Regions from separate parts of the Homo sapiens genome. Here all the other regions are linked to region 1. Evidence: promoter capture Hi-C in 16 types of primary human blood cells and fetal thymus (Javierre and others, 2016). All regions are on one chromosome and are shown on one strand. Each heading gives the region's core, a stretch centred on a gene start or on the middle of the fragment in contact. The rest is flanking DNA. Distances are from core to core; before and after follow the strand shown. Region 1 holds the start of ALS2 (alsin Rho guanine nucleotide exchange factor ALS2). Region 2 holds the start of ORC2 (origin recognition complex subunit 2). Region 3 holds the start of CFLAR (CASP8 and FADD like apoptosis regulator). Region 4 holds the start of CASP8 (caspase 8).

Region 1 (6,211 bases), core at 2,761-5,260:
CATTAGTCAACCATTTAACACATTGTCATCAGGTTACTTACTAATATCTATAGAGACAACTATTTTCTTTGAGCAACAACTGGGATACTTGCATTCAAGGTATAAACTCAAGATAACTACGTTGTAATAAAATGTAACCAAGTTAAGCTTTTCAAAGTGTTAATGCTAATACTACACAAATCTGTAGTAATTTTGTATCTGAGTCACAACATGTCCAAATTCCTTTGAGGGCCTTATTATACAACTTGCTCCCCTATACTTCCAGAGTTCATGATTGGTATATGCCTACATTTCCCAAGCATCTCTAGAATGTTAATTCCCCTGCAGGCTTCATGTCCTAAAGAAAGCATTTTCCCAGGAGCACAAACAGCAAAGCAAAACTGACCAAATAATTGGTCTGTCTCCTCTCCTTAGAAAAGCTTTACATAGTGGAGCTGCACTGGCACATTCCTTTCTTATTGCAGGGAAAGAAGAGTTCTTTTTCCACAGTCTCCTAATTTGAGGGTACAAAGTAAAATAAAGCAAACATATTGGGAAACAGTCCTGATTATAAATAAAAATGTTAAAGTGCTAGTTTCACAAACTATCTTAACTATACATAAAACTGTAAAAATAAATAACAAATCTATGTACTCATCATCCAGTTTTAACACATATTAACATATTTTCATATTGGCTTCAGCTCTTTTTTAAAACACAAGAAAAAATAAGTTACAGAGGTGAAGAAACTCCACTCAGAATTAGTTACTATTTCTAAAGTTAATGTATCCCATTCCCACGTTTTCATATTTACTTTTATGTACTTTCATTAGATATACACATATCAATAAATAATGCATGCTATTATGTTGCTTTCAAAGTGTACACAAATGCATCTTACTGTATAAATCCTTTAGCATTTTGCTTTTTTCACCCAGTATTACATACTTGAGATGTATATATGTTGGTAAGTATAGATCTAGCTCATTCATTTTTATGAGAAGATAGTATTGAATTGCATGAATAAACCAGTTTATCCATTTCCCCACTAATCTTTACAGTTGGATTGCTCTACTTTATTGCTCTTTTAAAGAGCTGCTATAATCATCCTTGTTATATGTTTGCTTAGCCAATTGCCCCAAGTTTAGTTAAGATCTTGGCTCTACAAAAATTTAGGCTGTGGAAGAAAAAAAAATCCTGGAGTGAATGTTAGCCCACCCAAATGCCATTATTGGGTCTAAACCACTCCCTTCCTGATAGGGAGGCCATGTGAACTGAAGAACTGTGTGATGACTCAAAAGAAAAATATTTAAAATGTGATAATTAAGGGAAACATGAGATGATCAATTTGTGGAATTAATGAGATGAAAGCTGATCTTCTCTCTGGACATAATTCACTAGCAGCTAAGCGAAACTCTGCCAACAAACCCCAGTCTTTTTCTCATAGGTATTGAGAAAACTGTAAATTTTCTTCAAATTTGAAAGAAATATACAATAGCTCCAAAAACTACCAATTTAAATATTTTTTCCTCTACCCACCTGGATCAATCAGTTCAGCTACATGCAGGCAAACATCAAGACATAAGCTAAAGAAAGCACCATCACATATACAGATGAATAAGAGACAGGGAAAGGAAAATTAAATGCAATATGAAAAAGAAACAAGCCAGAGATTGTTGCTATTTTATTGATGACTACCTAACATTTTCTTAAGGACTGACACCCTACAAAACCGAGTACTTTCTTATTACAGACAACAAAATTGTTTGGTCATCAATGAAGGGTTAAGAGAAAAAAATCTGTTAAAACTCTCTACCAGGAAAATTCATATCCTGAATACACTTGAAATACGTGGTAGATTTAATTCCACAAAGTTATAAAAAGAGCTAAATGATTTAAAAGTCACAAATCCTCACAGCATGCCTCTGAGTGAGAAAGGTACCTCATAGTACCCAAAGCGGGCCTTCCTTTATACAAGCTTAAAAATCACCACTCTGCCTTTCTTCCTAGTTTTTCAACTCATACTTTACCTAGTCTCACATTAATAAATAATTGTAGATTTTTACAAGTCAGTCACATTTTTGAGATTATCATTAGAATGGACCCAGCAGCTACTGCTTTAAACCCAGTTTTCATGAAAAGGTAGGAGATTCCACCTAATTACAAAAACACTAACATCAAGACTCATTGAAGTTCTTAGCATACCCTTTGCTTCTTTAACAGTCAAAGTGCCCAAAGTAAGTGTTTCAAATGACAGCCCAAATTCTGAAAAACTGAAATTTGGAGAGAAGGGATTCCTGTTTATATTGAGTACATTTAAAAAGTAAATGGCCTGCATAATGCCACTCAAGTTTTGTTTTTTTCCCAAAATTATCGGTTTGGTATTTCATTTTTCTGGATCATTACAGTTTCAAATTTTAACACTGTTAAACAACTTTGACGTTTTCTTGCTATAATTATGAATTTTAAATCTGCTAATACTGGTCATAGTTTAGAAACTAATAAATTCAAACCATGTATAGATTCTGTCAGTATCTTTTTCACATTAAAATGTCCTTATGGAACACCAAAATTACTACAGAACAACTTGAAATCATATTTTATAGCTACTTCCTTAAAATATTCAGTTCCCTTCCCCATCACTTAAGAAAAGAGTCAGTTTGGATCATGATGTAGTGGGAGGAATTAATTATAAAAACAGCTAATATGTATTGAATATTTACCATAAAACAGGCACTGTAATAAATACGATACATGAACCATTACACGTAAAGGTACTGTTATCAGGAAAACATTTTTATCCCCAATTTAGAGACAAGAGAACTGAGGCAGAGAGATTAAATAACTTGCCCAAAATCAAAGATGTAAATGGATGTGACTCTGGGTATGTTCAGATACAAAGCCTAGAATCTTAACCACTATGCTTATGTTATCAAGGTTAAAACACCGTAGTTTACTGCAAAAAATTTTTCACTGCTTTAAATTATTCATTAACTCAAAGGTCAACCGGTCACTCCAAATCATATGATAAATGGGGGGGAAAATGTGGGACCAATAGGTTTGCTGAAGTTTTGTACCTGCTCAGAATAAACATATCACACAATTTTATTCCATATAGCCAAATATAAGGGTAACTGAGTAAAGATCTTCACTTGGGTACAGCAGTCAGTTCCTTCTCCATCCTAAACCAGAAAGAAAGCACTGTTCTTGGATATGCCACTTCAACAAGAGTGTTTTTTCTCTTCCACCATCAAAGCCTTAAGCAATAGAACGATTCTACCAGTCTACTGTTGCCTGTCTCCAAAGCAGCCCTATTATCCGAGGACGAACACCAGCGTCAAGGACCTGTGTTATTTTTCTGGCTTCGCTTCTCAAAATAACTTATCTTCTCCTCTTGATGAATTACTTGATAGGCTCAAAGACTTGCCTAAACTACTAATTCTTATTATCAAAGCTATTTTCTTTCTCCGCAACCGCCTTTTCAAGTAGCCCTTGGTCCACTCTTCAACGCGATTTGCACCCTGTGGCAAGGCCGCCAGGGACACTCAGCAGGGTTCCAGGCCACGGACCCCAGTTTATCAGCTCAGCGCCTAGTGTGGGCATTCAAGAAATTCTCGTGAATGAATAGCTGGAAGGCAGCGTGGGTGGAGGCGGGAAGAGGGGGCTTGAAGGAATTTCACGCAGCTGAGACCACTGCAGCGGCGCCCAGTCTGGGGAGGGAGAGACCGGGGCAAGTGGGAGAACCTGGGGCCAAGGCAGGGGCCGCCTCGGGCGCTGCTGGACCGGCAGGAGCAGTCGATCGCACCCAGAGCTGGGAAAATGCGGGCGCCGTCTCCGCAGGCCCCCCGCAGGGCGCTCTCCGGCCTCGACCACAGCCTCCGCCTAGCTCCCTGTCCCCGGCCTTCCGCATACAAGGGGTCCCAGCCGATAAGCCCTCCTTAGCCAATAGCCAACCCGGGACCCACACTCGCTCACCTGAAGCTCCACCGGCAGCACCGCGCTCCGCATCCGGCGCGAGCTTGGCAACCCAGTGGGTCCGCGGGATCAGCTGATTCATGGAGGGCGGGGCCTCCGGACAGGGCGGGGCTGCAGGGCGACTAGCGAAGGTAAACGAGGGCGCGGGCGGCTCTTGGAATCCGAGCTCCTGGGAATTGTTCTTGGGAGACTGTCGACGGCGTCTGTTGGGGGTCAAAATTGCTGAGAATGCGTTAGGCACTGCAGGCTACGTACTTGGGAGCACAGTCTCTCCCTTAGTTTAGGGCGGAGCTATCAGTCCTGAGATGCGCTTTGATGATGACGTAGAATAGAGTCGTCCAAGCCTAGCTACCCGAGCGCTCCCATGGTAACAGGCGGTGGTGAAAGTGGTTGGGAGCAGCAGTCGTTTGTTACCACCTCAAACTGCAAGGGCCGGAAGTATAAAAGTAAAAAGGCTGAAATATTTTCAAATTGCCTTTATGGACAGTACCCTAACAGTGGTCGCTTCTCCCCCCTACTCCCGCGAATGACGTCATCGCCTCGCGGCCCCGTTTCGCCATTGTATCCTCAATGTGTAAACTTACTGGTTAGTTGCAACCCCAAAAGATGGGGTGGGATAGGAGAAAATGAAGTGGCCTCTCCAGTGATTCCCGTAGTACTCCCCAATATACAATCAGTAAAATCAGCTTTCTTGTCCCGCGCACAGTTTCATAACACTGTTTTTCGCAGCCACAGTCCCACCCCACCCAGCCTGCACTCTCAAGTCCTCCCATGATTTTATGATTTTCCAGAGCTGCCACTCATGTCGCACAGTGGGTGCAAACCTTCTGCTGCTAGGCATTGTGCCATCGCTGGACCTGCAAACATGCAAATATTTAGACCATCAACGACAGATGTGTAGTCGGGTTCTGAAACTCCTATATCCTATTCACCAACACCCTCAACTCAATTTCCTCCCTGATCCTTCGCCCACCTGCAAAACTGTTAGTCTGCAACAGTTCAACCAACCTTGCTCACTCCTGCATCGGTGCAGAAAATCACACAACCCTGAGAATTGGCACCACTGCGAACGAAAAGTGTCCAACTTCAGTCGGGACTTCCACGTGCGACTACGCAATATTGCTGAGCCTAAGACAGTCACATTTACACATTGCTACTCAGATTATCTCCTATTCCCCTCCCCTGCTGTTCCCAGCCCTCACGCTCTTCTAACCTCTTACTGAACTCTACTCACTCACCCGCTTTGGTAAAAATAAAAATAAAAAATTTTGTCTCTTACATCTCTGAGGAAAGTGAGACCACTAGAGGTGAATTTCCTTAAATCCCAAATCCCATCAGCCACTACCACAAAACCTACCTGCAACCAGTTTTGATTTGTTTTGTTTTGTTTAGAGGGAGTCTCGATCTGTCGCCCAGGCTGGAGTGCAGTGGCGCGATCTCGGCTCACTGCAACCTCCGCCTCCCAGGTTCAAGCGATTCTCCTGCCTCAGCCTCCCAAATAGCTGGGATTACAGGTGCCCGCCACTACGCCCGGCTAATTTTTGTGTTTGTAGTAGAGATGGGATTTCACCATGTTGGCCAGCCTGGTCTCGAACTCCTGACCTCAATTGATCCACGTGCCTCAGCCTCCCAAGGTGCTAGGATTACAGGCGCGAGCCACCGAGCCCCGGCTCCTTTTCACCGAGTCCTTTTCTTCTCCCTCTTTCTTCTTAGAAGATCCTGAACTCAGGATCCCTAATCTCCCCAAAGGAAAGACTTTGTTCTGTTGATGAAAAAAGACAAACTTTATAAAATATTTGAAGAGGTTAAATATACTCTGATCGAAACATGAGTAACCATGGCCTGGGACACAGCCTCAAGAAGTCCTGAGAACATGTGCCCAGGGTGGTTGGGTTATAGCTTGGTTTTATACATTTTAGAGAGACAGAAGTTATAGGCAAAGACATAGATCAATACATGGGGGGCCGGTGGTGCTCACAGATTATAGGTGGATTCAGAGACTTTATGATGGGTTGAAAAAGCTAAGCTTTTCCTAAAGAGTTGAAGTTAGCAGAAAGAAATATTTGAGTTAAAATGAAGGGGGTTATAGAAGCCAAGGTTCTTGTTACGTAGATGAAGCTTCCAGGTAGCATATGTTATAGGACCTTAAAATGTGTCAGACTCTTGGTTAAATCTCTCCTGGATCAAGAAAAGACCTGAAAAAGGAAAGTGATTCTGTATAAAATGCAAATTCCCCCCACAAGAGACAGCTTTGCAG
Region 2 (6,211 bases), core at 2,447-4,946, 820 kb before region 1:
AGTGAGACTCTGTCTCTAATTTTTTTTTCTTTTTTTTTGAGACAGGGTCTGGGCTCTGTCACCTAGAGCAGTGGTATGATCTTGGCTCACCACAGCTCCAACCTCCTGGGCTCAGGTGATCTGCCCACCTCAGCCTCCCATACAGCTGGGACTACTAGCTTCTGCCACCACGTCCAGCTAACTTTTGTATTTTTTGTAGAAATGAGGTTTCACCATGTTGCCTAGGCTTGTCTCAAACCTTTGGGCTCAAGCGATCTACCCACCTCTACCTCCCAAACTGCTGGGATTACAGGAGTGAGCCACCACACCAGGTCAAAAAAATTTTTTTAAACAACAACGACAACAAAAAATTGTGGACTTGGCTGTGATATGAAGGAAAAATTTTAAAAATAAAAATAAAAAATAAAGATAATAAATACTTCATCTATAACTTATGACCATTGCTTGTAAAACATGTCCTCTTGGGCCATTTTTCTAGTCATAATACTGTTTCCTATTATGGGGAAACTGGGTGTATTAGAGAAAAAGTTTAACCCATTTATGTAATATTTGTATAAAATAAAGCAACAGGTTTTTTAAGGGGCTGTTTGTGAGGCACTGTATTAGGCACATTTATGTACACCAGCTCATTAAATCCTCAGATTCTCTGACTTAGGTATTTTGCATCTCTCTCTTTATATATATAATGTCCCCAACTTACAAATGAGTAAACTGAGGTCAACTCATTAAATATTAATAACTCATTGAATTATTAATGCAAATACACACAATTATAAATCTATTAGGGTTGAAATTCACTTCGGACTGATCCTAACTTCTTCTTTTTTTTTTCTAAGATGGAGTCTGGCTGTGTCCCAGGCTGGAGTGCAGAGGCTCAGTTTCAGCTCACTGCAACCTCCGCCTCCTGGGTTCAAGAGATCCTCCTGCCTCAGCCTCCCGAGTAGCTGGGACTACAGGTGTGCACCACCACACCCAGCTAATTTTTGCATTTTTAGTAGAGATGGGGTTTCACCATGTCGGCCAGGATGGTGTCGATCTCTTGAACTCGTGATTGGCCCACCTCAGCCTCCCAAAGTGTTGGGATTACAGGTGTAAGCCACTGCACCTGGCAGATTCCTAACTTCCTGACCACTCTATTACACCACATACCTCTCCTGCCATCAAATAAAAATGTTATCATAAATGCTTGGTTTTTTTGTTGTTTTGGGTTTTTTGTTTTTGTGGGGTTTGTTTTTTGAAACAGGGTCATTCAGCTCTGTCACCCAGGCTGGAGTGCAGTGGTGCGATCTCAGCTCACTGCAACATCTCACCTCAGCCTCCTGAACAGGTGGGACTACAGGCGTGCAATGCCAAGCCTTGCTAATTTTTGTATTTTTTTGTAGAGACGGGGTTTCCCCATGTTGCCCAGGCTGGCCTGAGCTCAAGCAATCTGCCCACCTCAGCCTCCCCAAGTGCTGGGACTGCAGGTGTGAACCACTGTGCTGGACGCTAAATGCTTGTTTTGACCTCTGAAAACCATTCATAATAGGTCTAATTATTTCTCTACATGTCAATTAGGGTTAGGGTATTCTATAGCAGGTAACTATAGAATGTCCAAACTGGAAAGTTTCTCTAACTTTCCAGTTCATTGGGTGAAACATCACTAGTTCTATCAAGCATACTTCAAAGAGCATGGCCAGAGTCAGCATAATCTACATTATTTTACTTAATTATACACTGCTGTGTACTACAAAGGATTTGAAGCAGTGACAATGAGCAAATGCAATAAAACAAATTATAATTTATAAATGCTAATAGGGAGTCTGCATCAGAAAAAATATAAAGGAAAGCAGAAAATAAAATCACACAATGAATTTTTGGCTCTGAGCTTCCTGGCAATCAAAGCAAAAAGCAAGTAAAGGTCGGTTACGTAATTCTTATTGGCAAAAGTTTAGTTGTTCTTGGGGATGTGGGGACAAGATTTTCTAGGAAAATTTAAAAACAAATATTCTAGGCAACTGAGTATTGTCCTAGGCAATTTCCCTATGGTATTCTACACAAGAATTGCCTGGAGAGAGGCAGCCTGAGACTTGTTTGTAGCCAAGTGCATTTATACAAACATTTCCTTTTCTAATTTTGGAGCATCTTATTAAATAGTACAAAATCACCAAATTAAAGAAAATGTCTACAAAGACCTCATGAGAAACGTTTCCTTCTTTGCTTTCCAACAGTTCCTGAAAAACAAACGAACAAAAAAACCTAACAATCACACAATAAAATGCAATATTTAGTGACCATTATGACCCCTCAAGGCACTGCCTTGGTGCTTATAGGCCAACCCCTTTCAAGGAGTTACTTCAAGGCAATTCTGCAGCACCAAGTGTTAGCATTGCACCAAGTGGTAGCAACACACTCTCCTTTGAAAACAAATAAAAGATTTGCTGTAATTTTTAAAAACATAATCCTTTGAAAAAGAAGGTTGGATAGATTAGTGGTTAAACACCAATTTTAATATTGGAGAAACCTGAGTTCCAATCTCCACTCCATACTTTATAACTGTGTGACTTTGTCCAAAGTCCTGACGATTAAATGAAATGATGTGCCTGATATATAAAAGAGCATCACTGAATGCTCCCAATTATCGGTATTTTTACTTTAACCTTTTTCTTTTTTAGCTCCTTACTGCAGTGCACTGAGATATTTTTACTTTAAACTTCAACTTAACCATGCAGATCTCTTGTACATCTCTAACTCATTCAACATCTAACAGAAAAACTGCTCAATAAGTGATGATGTCCGTTTAACGTGCAGTGCCCTTATATAACGGTGTAGGGCCGTGCTATTTTTCTTCAGATTGCAATTTAACTGCGGGAAAGTGTAATGATTCTATTAGGATTTCAATTGTAAAATGAAAAGTAACGTCTCAACATCTTTTTAATTAAAAAGCTCTACCAAAAGAGCCTGGCTTATCAACATTTTACAGCCAAGCATGGCTCCAAGGTGACCGATCAGTTAGCTGGCAGGACACATTGGTGCCTCCAGGCTGGGATGACATCAAAGGTTCTAGCTACAGTGGTTCTGGGACGCGATCTCTTCCTCTTCATACCTCACAGGGCACTTTACCACTGTCGTTACACATCTTCACAGTTCTCCTTTTCCAACCAGAGGGCTTCGTAAGCTGGGAATCAGGTAGGTTAGTATCAGGCGTCCCTTGCACAAAAGGCCTATAACTGCGGGGCAGACTAACGAAAGGTCCTCCCAGAGTGAGCCTCTCACCTCAAGTCTTAAAGGACTTTGGCCTGCGCCTCCAGCCTCTGGCCAGTTGGCTGCGCTCCACCAGTAAGGGTTCTCGAGCCCCCGGGCAGCCTGCGGGGGGCAGCGAGGCGCAAAGACCATGCCCCAAGTGCCGAGGGAAAGTCCTGAGATGCGCGACTTGGGACGCTAGGGGCCAAGCTCCGACGCGGGGCTGGGTGCACCTGGACGCACCTCACACGCCGCGAGCTAAGCAGAAAAGGGAGGCAGGCTGCCCCGACACCCCACTACTCACCGCTAGGTTTCCGTCTGGCGCCGATCCGGCTGCGTCACGCCGGCCGAACGACACCCCGCTGAGTCGCCGCCGCAGGGAAGGTACCTTCGGCCCCAACGGGAAAAGCCAATTTCCAGTAATTCGCGCCCGACCACCGGGGAGGTAAGGAGCACCGGAGGCCAGCTGGGGGATGGGAAGCCTGCGTGCGGCACACCGAATCTCCCGCCCTGTTCAGGGGGCGGTGCCCGAGGAAGCCAATAGGAAGAGGAGTCGGCCAAGAGCGACGGCTCTGCCGTCCAGTCGGCGCCGGCCATTCGGCCCCGCCCATCAGGAAACCTGAGGAAAACGGATTCTTGGGCCCTGAGTTGTGGGCCTTACCTTTCCTTTCTTCTTTCCGTTTCCGGGGAAGGGAAAAGGAAGTGTTGTTTGGATCTGAGGAAGTTTGCACAGTAGCTGGCTGAGTGGTAGCTGTTTGTCTTGTAGCAATCTTTAAAAAGTGTTCTTTGGGGTCGGGCGCAGTGTCTCACGCCTCTAATCCCAGCACCTTGGGAGGCCGAGGCGGGCGAATCACCTGAGGTCGGGAGCTCGAGACCAGTCTGACCGACATGGAGAAACCCCGTCTCTCCTAAAAATACAAAATTAGCCGGGCGTGGTGGCGCATGCCTGTAATACTAGCTACTCGGGAGGCTGAGGCAGGAGAAACGCTTGAACCCGGGAGGCGGACGTTGCAGTGAGCCGAGATCGAGCCATTGCATTCCAGCCTGGGCAACAAGAGCGAAACTCCGTCTCAAAAAAAAAAAAAAAAAAAAAAAAAAGTGTTCATTGGTTTCCCAGCTACCTTTTGAAGAAAAAGGTAATGGAAATTGATTCGCATTTCTTTTTTAAAGATTTTCTTCATTTGGCGTGAAAGGTAGGATCTTGTACATCTCCAGGGTTTGGGGTAGGGAGAAGAAGAGACGTTAGGAGAAGCACTGAATATGGAGATGGGATCGGACGGCTAGTGGGATGAAGAGGCTGGGGAAATAGAATGAATAGACAGAGAAAATGATTGACTTCAACTATCCAAAATATAAAAAAGACAAGACAGAGAAAATGAGGAAGAAAAGGAATGAACCTGGATGGGATCCATACAGTATTAAGAACAGGGTATTGTTTCATTTGGATTCACTTACTCAAAACAAAACTACAGAGTACTCTGCGAACAGAAGATAAGTATTCATTATCGAGCGAGACAACTACGATCTCTGCATTCACTGTAGTTACCTAGCACGTGAAGATATTGAACGGACAATATTGAGAAAAATACCATGATATGGGAAGTGCATTGGAGCACATGGTAGGAGTAGCTAATTAAAAGCCCAGAAGGAGTCAGGAACAATTTTCTAGGAGGAAGAGATGTTTAAACTGAAACCCCTGTGTTGAATAGATTTAAAACAGGCCAAGAGGGGTAAAATTTTCCAGGTAGAAGGTCCAAATCCGTGTAACAGCTGTGTAAAATGCCAAGCATTGGGTCTGTTATTATGAAGGGCTTAGTTGGCCCTTAGGGCACTGGTCAGATTTGTATTGAAAGATCTTTGGATAAAGGAGGTAGGATTGGGAGGGAAGATATAGAGTCACAAGATTTGGGAGCTGTTTAGGAAATCCAGTTGAGAAAGAAATGATCATAGCCTTGATACCTCATTATTCCATTTTGGCTAGGTGGAGTTAAGAAAATGGAAGAGAAAGGCAATTTTTTGTGCATTATAAATAAGAATTTGGGGAGTGACTAGAGACAGAAGATAAAGAGAACATAGCTCAACAGTTAACAATGATGTGTTTGAAGAGTGTTTAAAAATGTGAAGATGACTAGCCCAGCACACACACCTGTAATCCCAGCTACTTGTGAGGCTGAGAAAAGGAAGATTGTTTGCATCCCAGAGTTCCAGGATGCAGTGAGCAGTGATCTCACTTGTGAATAGCCACTGCACTCCAGCCTGGGCAACACATCGAGACCCCATTTCTTAAAAAAGAAAAGAAATTTGAAAAAAAGATGAAGATCTAGGAATGTTGAATAGATATGTTCAACTTATGTGTGTTTTTTATATATATAATTTTTTTTTTTTGAGATGCAGTCTCCCTCTGCCGCCCAGGCTGGAGTGCAGTGGCAACATTACTGTTCACTGCAGCCTCGACTATCTGCTCTCAACCAAACCTCCCACCTCAGCTTCCTGAGTAGCTGTGACTGCAGGCGCACACCACCATACCCGGCTAATTTTTGTATTTTTTGTAGAGTGGGGGTTTCACCATATTGCTCTGGCTGGTCTCCAACTCCAGAGCTCAAGTGATCCACTCATCTCGGCCTCCAAAAGTGTTGGGATTACAGGTGTGAGCCACTGCACCTGGCTGTTTTTTTATATTTCTATGATGTCAGTAAACTCCCCTTCATTCCTCTCCTTCTCACATCTTGAAAAAAGGCTTCTACAGACCACAGAGGCCTTGGTGTGAGTGGTGGGTTTGGATGTAGTTTTTATGGTATATGTGTGGAAAATAGAGGGAAGGAGCTGAGTTTTGCTTTTAGGTTGACACTAAGATAAAAACAAAGAGCCATACCTTCAGAATGGAGACACAGGATTTAGGAGCAGCAGGAAGCTGAAGTCAGAGGGGACCATAAAATGGCAACTCCCCATGTATTCACGGAAATTTTGCGCAGGGCAAGTAGACTGTTCC
Region 3 (6,211 bases), core at 2,317-4,816, 660 kb before region 1:
GGGTCTCACTCTCAGAGATTTTGATACAATTAGTCTGGAATGGTACCTGGCCACTGAGGTTTTTGCAGCTCCTTGGGGACAGTCTAATGTGCAGCCAAGGTTTACAACCAGTGAATTTGATGAAAACGTGAACATTTGTTGCTACTTTGTTAAGTGTGGAAACAGAAAGTCAGAGAGGCTTAAGCAATACTGCCCTTGGACCCAGGCACTGGGGGTCCTGTTGTGGGCCCTGATTTAGAAGGGCCTTGCTCCGGCTCTTCTTGGGCTGTGCCCTTCCCTCAGGTGAGGAGAATCATCAGAGGTGGGAGGAGTCTGCAAGGTCAAGAGGACATGCCCACACCGAGACCCTCTGTTTAAAACCCTCTTTGGGGCTGGGTGTGGTGGCTCTCGCCTGTAATTCCAGCACTTTGGGAGGCCAAGGTGGGCAGATCACTTGAGGCCAGGAGTTCAAGACCAGCCTGGCCAACGTAGTGAAACCCTGTCTCCACTAAAAATACAAAAATCAGCCGGATATGGTGGTGCGCGCATATAATCCCAGCTATTTGAGAGGCCGAGGCAAGGGAATTGCTTGGGCCTGGGAGGCAGAGGTTGCAGTGAGCCAGGATTGTGCCACTACACTCCAGCCTGGGTGACAGAGTGAGACTACGTCTCAAAAAAACAAAAAGAATAAACCCTCTTTGGGTACCTAAGACCTGAAGTTCTCTACGCAAAGAGCCCTGAGCCTCCCACCAGGGCCTACATTGGCCTCTTCCCCAAGTCCATACCCCAGGGACAAACTATGCTGCAAGTATGCACATCCCTAAGCCCAAGGGGTGGCTGATTTTAAGAGGATGTAAATGGAAAGTGGACTGCAGGTGGGAGTGTCAACATAGGTGTATACAGTCATTCTTTGAGGGCTGCTGAAGCCAAAGGATAAGGATGGCACAGGGGTAGGGGGTTAAATGCCTGCCCCTACTGGTTTGCCAAATGGGATGACAACATGGGCTTCCAATGTGAGCCAGAAAAAGCCCTCAGGGAACGACATATGGATATGCTGGGTTAGAAGTCATACTGGTGTGTGTTGAAGTGGTAAGAATCAGTGGGCATGCAAGGTGGGCCTGGGGTAAGTCCACTATGATGGTTCTACTGACAACCAGAAATGGCTTTCACTTGGGATAGGGTGGGTTGGAGGTGGTGATGGAGGTGCTAAGCTAGGTGTTCTTGAATAGTAGTTTCCAAATTAAGGACAGGTGCTGATCTGTAATAAAATTTTCTTGGTGTACTAAAAAGATAAGAAAGGCCAAGAGCAGCAGTGGTCATGCCTGTAATCCCAGTGCTTTGGAAGACCTAGGCAGGAAGATCACTTGAGGCAAGTTCAAAACCAGCCTGGGCAACATAGCAAGACTCCCTGCCACCCACGACCCCCGCTTCTACTAGATATATATATATATATATATATATATATATATATTTTTTTTTTTTTTTTTTTTTTTTTTTTTTTTGAGATGGAGTCTTACTCTGTCTCCCAGGCTAGAGTGCACTGGCATAATCTAGGCTCACTGCAACCTCCGCCTCCCGGGTTCAAGCAATTCTCTGCCTTAGCCTCCTGAGTAGCTGGGATTACAGGCGCCCGCCATCACACCCAGTTAATTTTTTGTATTTTTAGTAGAGATGGGGTTTCACTATCTGGGCCAGGCTGGTCTTGAACTCCTGACCTCGTGATCCACCCGCCTCAGCCTCCCAAAGTGCTGGGATTACAGGCATAAGCCATTGCGCCGGGCCACAAATTTTTTTTTAAAGAATTAGCTGGGCATGGTGGCACCTGTAGTGGCACACCTAGCATGGTGGCATGCTAGGACCTGTAGTCCTAGCTACTCAGGAGGCTGAGGCAGAAGGATCACTTGAACCTGGGAGGTTAAGGCTGCAGTGAGCTGTGATCGGGTCACTGCACTCCAGCCTGGAGTGAGACCCTGTCTCAAAAACAAACAAAAAACCAAACTTGGATAACTGACAGAGTTTAGGATAGAATTACATGGAAAAACCAACAAAACAAGACAATTATTAACTCCAGAAAAAACTAAAAGTTGTGTGGGAAAGGAAAAGTAATCATAGTTTGGTACATAACTTGGCTGTGACTACCGTTTACATGATTATAATAGCATATATACTGAAGATTAATCAAACAGAATATAACTATCTTGGGAAGATGGAGAGATTAAAAAAAAAGGTTGGGGGTGAATATGGGGTGAAAGTGATGGAGAAAAAGAGCTGAAGTCTCCTCTGGTGTCTCAGCACTCCACCCAAGGTAGAGCCTCTGGATGGAAGAAGGAATCTCCCACCTCTCCACCACACTCCCCCAGGATTTACCTTCAGCATCAGGTAGCTAGGGGCAAGATGAGAAATGCTGATATGCTGGTCTCTGACTGGGAGCTGTGGGAAGAGAGAGGTTCTGAGTTGCAGCAGTCTGGAGTGGAGTCTCTTGCTGAACAAAGGGAGAGGTTTGGTTTAAATACCACAGACTGACTCTCACATTCTGATCCAAGAGTTTTCATAGATTTTTTGGAACAGATGTTTCTTCATTTGCTGTTTGCCCTTAGGACCATTTCAAAGGCTTTAAATGGTTAATGGTTGTTTGTTGTTTTAAATAATTTTCAGTTTCACTAGGGGTGAATCCCGAGCTCTTCATGCCGTCCTGCTGTTAGTCTCTCTTGGTATTATTCTTCACCTTTCCTGTGAGTTTAAAATTATCTCAAGAAAAGTTAAAGCTCTTTAAGAATCACAATAAAGTAGTTATTAGGAATAAATAAAAACGTAGAGGGGCGCGGTGGCTCACGCCTGTGATCCCAGCACTTTGGGAGGCCGAGGCGGGCAAGGATCACTTGAGGCCAGCAGTTGGAGACCAGCCTTGCCAACATGGTGAAACCCCATCTCTACTAAAAATACAAAAAAAAAAAAAAATTAGTCGGGCATGGTGGCTTGCACCTGTGGTCCCCGCTACTTGGGAGGCTGAGGGCTGGATGGTTTGAGAGCGGGAAATCCAGGCTGCAGTGAGCTGTGATGGCGCCACTGCCTTCTAGCCTGGGCGACAGCGCGAGACCCTGTCTCAAGAAGGAAAACAAAAAAAAACAAACAAAAACATACACACAAAAAACCACAAAGTGTGTTCACGTTTGCTATGACTCCCAGACAACAATTGTAAACACTCGCGCCGGGCGTGGTGGCTCACGCCTGTAATCCCAGCACTTTGGGAGGCCGAGGCGGGCGGATCACGAGGTCAAGAGTTCGAGACCATTCTGGCCAACAGTGAAACCCCGTCTCTACTAAACACAAAAATTAGGCGGGCGTGCTGGCGCGTGCCTGTAGTCCCAGCTACTCGGGAGGCTGAGGCAAGAGAATCGCTTGAACTAGGAAGGCGGAGGTTGCAGTGAGCTGAAATTGCGCCACTGCACTCCAGCCTGGGCCACAGAGCGAGACTCTGTCTCAAAAAAGAAGGAAAGAAAGAAAGAAAAAAAAAAACACTCGCAGTGTTTACTCCTAACGCGTGGAACTTGTGTCGACATCCACCCCCGGTTACTGCATACTCAGTCACACAAGCCATAGCAGGAAACAGCGAGCTTGCAGCCTCACCGACGAGTCTCAACTAAAAGGGACTCCCGGAGCTAGGGGTGGGGACTCGGCCTCACACAGTGAGTGCCGGCTATTGGACTTTTGTCCAGTGACAGCTGAGACAACAAGGACCACGGGAGGAGGTGTAGGAGAGAAGCGCCGCGAACAGCGATCGCCCAGCACCAAGTCCGCTTCCAGGCTTTCGGTTTCTTTGCCTCCATCTTGGGTGCGCCTTCCCGGCGTCTAGGGGAGCGAAGGCTGAGGTGGCAGCGGCAGGAGAGTCCGGCCGCGACAGGACGGTACGTGCCCCGCGCTCGACCCCCGCGCTGGCGGCGCCGGAGCTGTCCCAGACCCCAAGCCCCGACGCCCGGCCCTGAGTCAGCATTGCAGCAGGCCCTGCGCCGCCGCGCCCCGCGTCCCACCCCGCGCCGCTCCTCACAGCCCTGCGCTCCGGGAAACTGCAGGTGGCCGGCAGTGGCCAGGGGATGGCGGGGGCGCTTCTGGAACCTGACTCAGTTTTGTAGGTTCCTTATCTCGGTTGTTTACCGCGGGCTTTGCGGAATGCCCCCGCTTCCGTTTCCGCCCGGCTCCGAACCCCCGAACCCCTTCTACCCGCAACTCCGCCCCGGATTCCCAGAAAGGGGCGACCTGGGCCACAGCGGTACAAGCTGCACCCCGATGGACCTGAGAGACCGGAAGTAACCCTTGGCCAACTCTGGCCGCCCCCTGCAGCCGCAGCCCCAGAGGCCCACCCGCGAGCTTCAGTGGCGGGCCCTCAGCGTCGTGTAAACTTTGCTTAAAATGATCTTGAGAGTTCAATTCTTGGGGTGAACTGTTGAGAAGATCTGGCATTTTTCCTTTCGAAAGTTGTTGGGAACGTGGACTTTCCCAACAATTGTGTATGCGCTCGATCTCACTCAGTGGGAGCCGCCGCCCTGGAGGGAATTTCACAATAGCCTGGTCAGGGCGGTTATTTTCCAGAGCAGTTTAATGTCTATTTTGCCCAAGTGCAAGGAAAGCTTGCCTTGGGAAAGCTGGGAATGCTTGGCTAATGAAAAGTTTTTAGAGCCTTTTAAAATGAACCTGTTTCTGCCACTTTTCCACCGCCTCAAAACGACTGGGAAATGTAAACTGGCTTCAAGATGTTCTTGCTTGAGGGTGTCTGGATTTGGACAGAAGGCCATGTTCTTTTAATATTAACAGTGGCACGCAGTAGAACAAAGGCCACTGAAATTCAGAATCAGTTTTTGGCTCCACGGGCAGGAAGTAAATTCAAGGACGCCAGAGGTCTTGCGAATATTTTAATTGGTTGACATTTGAAATTTGTTCTTAAGCAATGAGGGGTGAAACCAGTAGGGGGATAGCGTATAGCATAAGTAAAGCTTTTTGGACATCAACAAACTGCGATAATCTACAACAGACAGCGGGCTCTGGAAGGTTTGACCTGCTTTAGAGAGAGATTTCCGATAAGAGGAACGGAGTTTTTGGCACTTTTCGGTTTGGTGATTCCCCTAAATAACCTTACAAAAGTTTCGTTGAACAAAAAACCTGGCTGGAGCTCCAAGATCTTTTTTTTTTTTTTTTTTTTTTGAGACAGCATTTCACTCTTGTTGCCCAGGCTGGAATGCAATGGCACTATCTCTGCTCACCGCAACCTCCGCCTGTCGGGTTCAAGCGATTCTCGTGCCTCAGCCTCTCAAGTAGCTGAGATTACAGGCATGCACCACCATGCCCGGCTAGTTTTGTATTTTTAATAGAGACGGGGTTTCTCCATGTTGGTCAGTCTGGTCTCGAACTCCTGACCTTAGGTGATCCGCCCGCCTCGGCATCCCAAAGTGCTGGGATTACAGGCGTGAGCCACCATGCCCGGCCCAACTCCAAGATCTAAACAAAAAAGACTGGGTTGAAAGGGAGTTTTTAATGTTTACTGTTTGCTTTACATCCATTTTCTTGTTTTGTTAATACTTGCTTTACTTAAGCTTTTGGGTCAAATGTCCTCGTTAAAATGGCTTTCTCTAGCGACTTTATGTTTTACGTTTCTGTTTGTAACTGACATTTGACCTTCTTTTAACACGGTATTACTTGCTTCCTTATACCGGTTTCCAAGGTGAAGCCATTTGCAGGGTCGCTGGGTTTCCCCCTCCCCCCGAAAGTCTTGCGCGACCCGGGGTGGGCCGGATAGTGTGCAGTTTTTTGAGCCTTGGGCTGGGGACCTCCAGGAAGCTGAAGCGGAAATTGCCTAGGCCCCTGGGGCATTGGAGGTCCTACCGCAGCTCCTAGTAGGTGGTGGGGGCGCAGCGGCTGTCCCCACTCAGTCCTGGTGGGGTCGCACGTAACGGTCCTGAGCTATGCATAAGCCGTTTGACCACGCATGGAGAATTTTACCACCCAGAGACACGCGAGTGGCCCTGTGCAAGTTTCAACTGCGCGGGGGGCGGGGAATTCCGCAGACAGGATTCTAGAATTTATGTCTTGTGTGGTAACATTTCAGCCGGTGGGTGGCGGGGATTAGGCGTGAAGCGGTTCAGCAGGCAGAGGTTCTCGGACGCCCTCCGGCGAAGCCACCTGTTGATGCTTTTGACTTTCTGTCCTTGTTCCTCGTCCCATCTGGAGCATTTCCAATTCT
Region 4 (6,211 bases), core at 1-2,500, 520 kb before region 1:
TTACTTGCCACCGACAGGGGTTATTATTACTAAATGGAGTCAGTATAAATGCTTTCCAATAAAGCATGTCCAGCGCTCGGGCTTTAGTTTGCACGTCCATGAATTGTCTGCCACATCCCTCTTCTGAATGGTTGGAAATTGGGCATCTGTTCCTTTAAACAGGAAACATTTCTTGTTCGAGTGAGTCATCTCTGTTCTGCTTTAGGAGTAAAGTTTACCCTGCAGTTCCTTCTGTGGTGAAGTTTTCTCTTTCTCTCGGAGACCAGATTCTGCCTTTCTGCTGGAGGGAAGTGTTTTCACAGGTTCTCCTCCTTTTATCTTTTGTGTTTTTTTTCAAGCCCTGCTGAATTTGCTAGTCAACTCAACAGGAAGTGAGGCCATGGAGGGAGGCAGAAGAGCCAGGGTGGTTATTGAAAGTAAAAGAAACTTCTTCCTGGGAGCCTTTCCCACCCCCTTCCCTGCTGAGCACGTGGAGTTAGGCAGGTTAGGGGACTCGGAGACTGCGATGGTGCCAGGAAAGGGTGGAGCGGGTGAGTGCCTGTTGCCAAGGTGGCCTCTTCAACAGGAAACCACAATATTTTTGTTTCTTGACTTGCTCTAGAAACAGGGCTGTGGGGGTGGGGAAGCAACTTGGATCTGCCCTTCTGAGGACACCTCTGGGTGCTGCCTGGCCCAGGTCTCCTGTGTGGTTTCTCTCTGAGCCGTTGCCTCTGACTTTGCTACTTTTTCACTCTGAGCAGTCTCCAGTTCCTCTGCTACCTTTTTGTCCTCCAAGCTTCCCTGCCGCCTCGAATGCAGATACACGGTCTCCCTCCTGTGGACCCGTTTGGAGAGTCCAGAAGACTTTATCAATCCACTTTTTTTTCTTTTTCATTTGGCCCTGGGGCCGACGGTTAAGTACTTTATTCTGTCATTCTGTCGAATCACGATGCCCTGAGGTGCACAGCCCCTTCCCCCTCTTCCGTGTCTGAAGGGTTTCCTTTTATCTCTCCACCCCCACCCTTGCCCTCCTGCCCTCTCTCTTGTTCCCCAAAGACAGTTCTCTAATGTTTTGATGTGGATTCGTGAATTTATCTGTATCTTTGCAAAATGTATTTTTCTTTTGTATGTGTACACTGTTTTTTAACTATGCGATCTCAGGCAAGTAATTCCTCTGTGCCTCTGTTATCTCATCATTAAATGATTAATAATGCCTCCAGAGGTGACTGTGAGGCTTGAAGGAGATAATACGCATACATCACTTACTACACGAGTTAGCAATTATTATTGCATATTAATACTATTGGTATTTTATTTTGCTCATTCTGTTTCTATTTCTTTTTTATTTATTTATTTTTTGAGACAAAGTCTTGCTCTGTCACCCAGGCTGCAGTGCAGTGGTGCAATCACGGCTCACTGCAGCCTCAACATCCTGGGATCAAGCAATTTTCCCATCTCAGCCTTCAGATTAGCTGGGACCACAGGCGCGTGCTACCACACCTGGCTAATTAAAAAATTTTTCTTCATAGAGATGGTGTCTCATTTTGTTGCCCAGGCTGGTCTCAAACTCCTATGCTCAAGGGATCCTCCCACCTTGGCCTCTCAAAGTGCTAGGATTACATGCATGAGCCACGGTGGCCATCCAGGCATTGATATTATGAGGCCATCTTGACCTAGCCCTCTCTGGTGAAGAGTCCTTTTCAGATACTTCGTTCAGTCTTCTCAGCTATGAGTCCCTACCCTCTGAAAGCTTATATTCTATTTGGGGAAAGACAAAAGGCAGTTTCAAAGAAGAGAGGTGTTTGATTTTCTTTTCCTACTTTTAATATCAGAAAACATTTCATCTAACTCTCAGTATGAAGGCAATATTTTGTTTACTGGTATATCCCTAGAGCCCAACATGGTGAGGGCCCCAGGATTTGCTTCTTTGATAAGATGGTAAACCCAGCTTTCAGCTAACTTCATGGTTTCCTCAGCTACACTCATATACAAGGATCACCTTTGGTAAGATGGACTTACCATCTTACCAAAGAGTTTTTGCATTTTAGAGTTTTTTCTTTTTAGATTTTTTTCATTTTAGAATTTTTTTATTTCAGAGTTTTTTCTTTTTAGAGGTTTTTCATTTTAGAGTTTTTTCTTTTTAGAGTTTTTTTTTTTTTTTAATTTTAGAGTATTTTAGGCTGCTGAGGGTGGAATCTGGTGACCTTGGGGCCACAGAGATGCTCCTTGGCTAAACCAGGGGCTTTAGCTCTGAAAGTTCACAGCCACCCTGAGAACCAAGATGAGAGGGCTCTGCAGTGTCCAATCTCAAGACCTCTCTGAGGTGCTCCATCAAGATTCATTGAATGAAAAAATTAAAGTCTTAATGATGAACCCAGAAAAATCTTTAAATCCTAAATATGAAATGAAAGTGTTCTTAGTTACAATCCAGTCCAACGTCCTTGTTTTGGAATGTGGAAATGAGGCCCCAAAGGTAAAATGGCCCATCCAAAGTCACAGCCAGGGGCCAGTGCTCAGGTGGCCAGGTGCCCTGCGTGCGGTCTCCTGGACCACCAGGCCTTTTTCCTGCAGCTTTAGAAGCTTTAGAAGGCACTCTGCTCACTCAGGGGCAAGTGGTAAGCGCTCTTTCCCCTCTAGTGTTTGTGACTCAGGAGTTTCGAAACAGGAAGTAGAGCTGGCTGGCTGTGCCCTTCCGTCCTTCATTAGACGTTTGCTCTTGTCTTAGATGCTCAGATGGTAGTGGATAGGCCTGTGACGAAGGTGCTACCATCGTGAGAGTAAGGTAAGGATTTGCCTCTTTGTTAAGGTCAGAGGGGCCTTTTGGGAGGAAGGCCTTTGATTCTGGAGTTTTCTAGGCTGCTGAGAGTGAGATCGGGTGGCCCTGGGGCCATGGAGGTGATCCTCGTATGTGAGTGTGGATGGGGAAACCATGAAGTTAGTGTAAGAGGTAGCAGTCCCTCTGAGAGCCTTGCCGAGGGCCGTGCAGTTTCCAGATCTGAAGGCCATTCTAGCTTAGACTGATGAAGTCCTAGGAGCTTCTGAAATGCTGCAAGTTTAACTACTTGTATAAAGGCCTCATCCTGATCCCAGTCAAACTTGTGAAATAATAGAAGCCAAAATTTAAATCTCTACTGACTTTGCTGCTACAGCTATCCTCCCACCAACACACATACCCACCAACATACACACTTGCCAACATAAACGCACACACACATACACACAAACACACCCATGTGGTCCTACTAATTCAATTATTTATTTTTTAAAGAAATTAAAAAAGACTGGGCGTGGTGGCTCTCGCCTGTCATCCCAGCACTTTGGGAGGTCGAGGCGGTGGTTCACCTGAGGTCGGGAGTTTGAGACCAGCTTGACCAACATGAAGAAACCCCGTCTCTACTAAAAATACAAAATTAGCCGGGCATGATGGCGCATGCCTGTAATCCCAGCTACTCGGGAGGCTGAGGCAGGAGAATCGCTTGAACCTGGGAGGTGGAAGTTGTGGTGAGCCGAGATCGTGCCACTGCACTCCAGCCTGGGCAACAAGAGCGAAACTCCGTCTCAAAAAAAAAAAAAAAAAAAAATTAAAAAGATACAGAACAGTTCAAAAAACAATATAATGGGAAGACTAGATAGACACAATCAGAGACCTGCACTTGTGGGGTTAAGAATTTACAGGTGAAGTTGCAAGTTTCATTCTGTTTGAAAATGATGGGATTATATGTTTTGCTGAGGTTTGGACACCTTTGCTGGGTTGTTTGAATGCCGTGGCTGCAGCGCCCTGTTATGGACATCATGTGCGTGCAGAATGGATGTCTGTCAGGTTCCGGGGCAGCCCGCAGTCTGAGGCAGCCAGCCTGGATTGGAGGGAGTGGCAATACTACCTGCCGGTTAGGGGTTTGGGCCTGAGAGCGAGTGGCTTTCAGGTTCTCTCAAGCTTCGGATGAGATGCAGGTTTCTGCTTCCGATGGCAAATGCATGTTTTGCTTTTTAGTTATCACTGCAAGAGCTAGGATGCTGCTAGAATATTACTGGAATGATTGTGATGAGATGGAATGTATTTACAGTTTAATTGTGACATGTAATACAGTGGTAGAATGGGACTCTGGAATGAGATGCTGGGGCCTAGATTCTAGCACTTCCTTTGTGAGGCTCTAACCCCCTCTCCTATAGTGGATTTGTTAAGAACTTCTGTTTTTGTGGCTTTGTTATTATAAAATTTTTTGAAATGTTGTTCTCTAAAAAAGTTATGATTTTATGTTTTTCTTCATGAGATTCTTTCACTGCCTTCCAGCTGCAAGTAGAATGACGTCTAAATCTTTGTGATCTGTCACTGAAGCCCTTGAGTGAGACACTTAAATCTGGCTGTGGCTCTCTCTCTTACTAGCTTATTTCCAAGCCGTGATTTTTCACAACAGAAAAATGGGGACAGTAATAGTAGTTTCTTCAGAGGCTTTTAGTGAAATGAGGTTAAAAAATATTTTTATGTTTATATGGATATATAGATTACAAACATTTATATATCATTTATTTATATGATTATTATAAACACATATTTATATTTAAATACTTTGGGGCATAAATATATAAAATAATAAATATACTTATGTAATACAAATAGACTTATATACATTTACTATTTAGCAGAGATTATATAAAATATATGTATTACATGGCAACATATTCAAATTTACATATGTTATATATACATGTGGAAAAAAAATTGGGAAAAGGCCACAAAATGTGACCAAAGAATTACTTCCAAATGGCAAGTTTTTAAGTAATTTTTATTTTCTTTTTATACTTCTCTGTACTTTCTCTATGAAACAAGTGTTACTTTTACTGTTTTTAGGAACCAAAAATACAAGTACATTGTTTAAAAAATACTAGCTTAACAAAGTTTCTAGCCCATAAGCTAGTGCAGAAAATCTAGGTCCCATAAAACAAGAACTGCCACACGATGTCTCTCCCCTTACAGTGCTGGATGGCCCGTTGTTAATGGTGTCATAAATCCTTTGCAAGTGACTGTTTTCTAGGTACTATGACTAGAGGGATGTGTAACTTAAGCAAAAAACAAAAAACAGAAAAGGCTGACTATCATCTGACAGTGTATCCTGGAACACCTAGGCCAGAGAAGAAGCCACGTTAGCATTTTCCCTTCTAAATGTCAGTTATGATTTGATGGGGAAACCACTTAAAAAGCATTGTCACGTTGTTGAAAAGGTAATGAAATGAGTGAGATGAGATGGCTATGGAGGACGGAGCTATGCGCCAATCTTATTATATCCAAATTCATGTCATCTCAGCCTTGGATTGTATTGATTTTTATTATATACTGTCAGAAAATGCTATTGAATGTGTAACAAGAGCCTCAAAAAGGTTTATTCATTTTGACACCATAATACTACTTTTAGGAAATTATTCTAAGAAAATAATTAGAGGTATTCTTAAAGATTTGCGTTTTAAAGTCATCCTAAATGTAATCAGGAACTGGCTATGTAAATTATAGCCCATCTCTAAGATTAAGTGCCTTACAGATATTAAAACCCATGCTGTAGAAGAAAAACTAAAGACAGGAAAGTACTTACAATACAAGATGTACTTACCAGTGGAAAAATCCACTTATACTACAGAAATATGATGTGTTCAAATATAAGGAAAAATGTGTATGCATAAAATATTTGGTAGGAAAGAGTAAAATATTACTGGGCATTTATATTTGGATGGTGGAATTATACATAATTTTAATTTTCCTTTTTATCTTTTCTGTATTGTCTAAAATGAATACACTAAGCATTGTTATCCTCAGAAAAAAATAATTGAGGGATGGGGGAAAGGAAGTCCTGCTTTCATTTGATTCTTTGGTTGGTTTTATTCTGTAAGATGAGACTTTAACAGAGGTTAGAATGCATTAAAAATTGTAAAGACAGTTGACCTAATGGCACTAAACAGGGTTAGATCTAGTTTAGATCTTTTCCAGCATGTGAATAAGAATGGATCTTTAAATAAAGATTTTAACTAGGTATATGTTTTAGAATAAGTCATACATGTACATGGTAAAAATTCAAACAGTACAAACTGTGCAGCAAGGTATGGGAAATAAAGCAGCTCTCACTGTCACCTCCACCCATCAGCCTTCTCACACTGCACGCCCACATCTGTGTGTAATTCTGCTTTTCTTTAACATTACTGAAGGAACTTCCTGTGCATTTTTTGTCAGAGCTCTTCTGTGAAT

Evidence for each region. Contacts are between HindIII fragments. The CHiCAGO score rates a contact against its expected background, and 5 or more counts as called.
Region 2: a contact is called between the fragment with the promoter of ORC2 here and the fragment with the promoter of ALS2 in region 1, in 1 of 17 cell types (neutrophils). The highest score is 6.7, in neutrophils.
Region 3: a contact is called between the fragment with the promoter of CFLAR here and the fragment with the promoter of ALS2 in region 1, in 3 of 17 cell types (monocytes, total B cells and neutrophils). The highest score is 5.4, in monocytes.
Region 4: a fragment that was not itself captured here is called in contact with the fragment with the promoter of ALS2 in region 1 in 1 of 17 cell types (erythroblasts); the score reaches 6.5 in erythroblasts.

What each region holds. Positions count from the first base shown.
Region 1 is chr2:201,776,923-201,783,133 of GRCh38, forward strand. ALS2 (alsin Rho guanine nucleotide exchange factor ALS2) reads right to left here and starts at 4,011. Exons shown (of 34, transcript NM_020919.4): 1 at 3,955-4,011. RefSeq lists a silencer at 3,681-3,850 and enhancers at 3,981-4,050, 4,061-4,290, 4,301-4,370. The HindIII fragment of the contact is 4,023 bases long and covers 1,956-5,978 here.
Region 2 is chr2:200,959,964-200,966,174 of GRCh38, forward strand. ORC2 (origin recognition complex subunit 2) reads right to left here and starts at 3,697. Exons shown (of 18, transcript NM_006190.5): 1 at 3,527-3,697. It overlaps LOC105373835 (a long non-coding RNA gene), which reads left to right and starts at 3,469. Exons shown (of 3, transcript NR_187976.1): 1 at 3,469-3,667. RefSeq lists an enhancer at 2,930-2,999 and a silencer at 3,708-4,106. The HindIII fragment of the contact is 10,169 bases long and covers 1-6,211 here.
Region 3 is chr2:201,112,598-201,118,808 of GRCh38, forward strand. It overlaps CFLAR (CASP8 and FADD like apoptosis regulator), which reads left to right and starts at 3,567. Exons shown (of 10, transcript NM_003879.7): 1 at 3,567-3,884. LOC105373836 (a long non-coding RNA gene) reads right to left here and starts at 4,087. Exons shown (of 3, transcript XR_923785.3): 1 at 2,347-4,087. RefSeq lists enhancers at 3,553-3,812, 5,453-5,502, 5,851-6,211, 5,993-6,211 and a silencer at 3,843-4,052. The HindIII fragment of the contact is 6,122 bases long and covers 1-4,602 here.
Region 4 is chr2:201,257,853-201,264,063 of GRCh38, forward strand. CASP8 (caspase 8) reads left to right here and starts at 2,684. Exons shown (of 9, transcript NM_001372051.1): 1 at 2,684-2,761. RefSeq lists enhancers at 259-388, 348-492, 489-548, 569-988 and a cis regulatory region at 420. The HindIII fragment of the contact is 954 bases long and covers 774-1,727 here.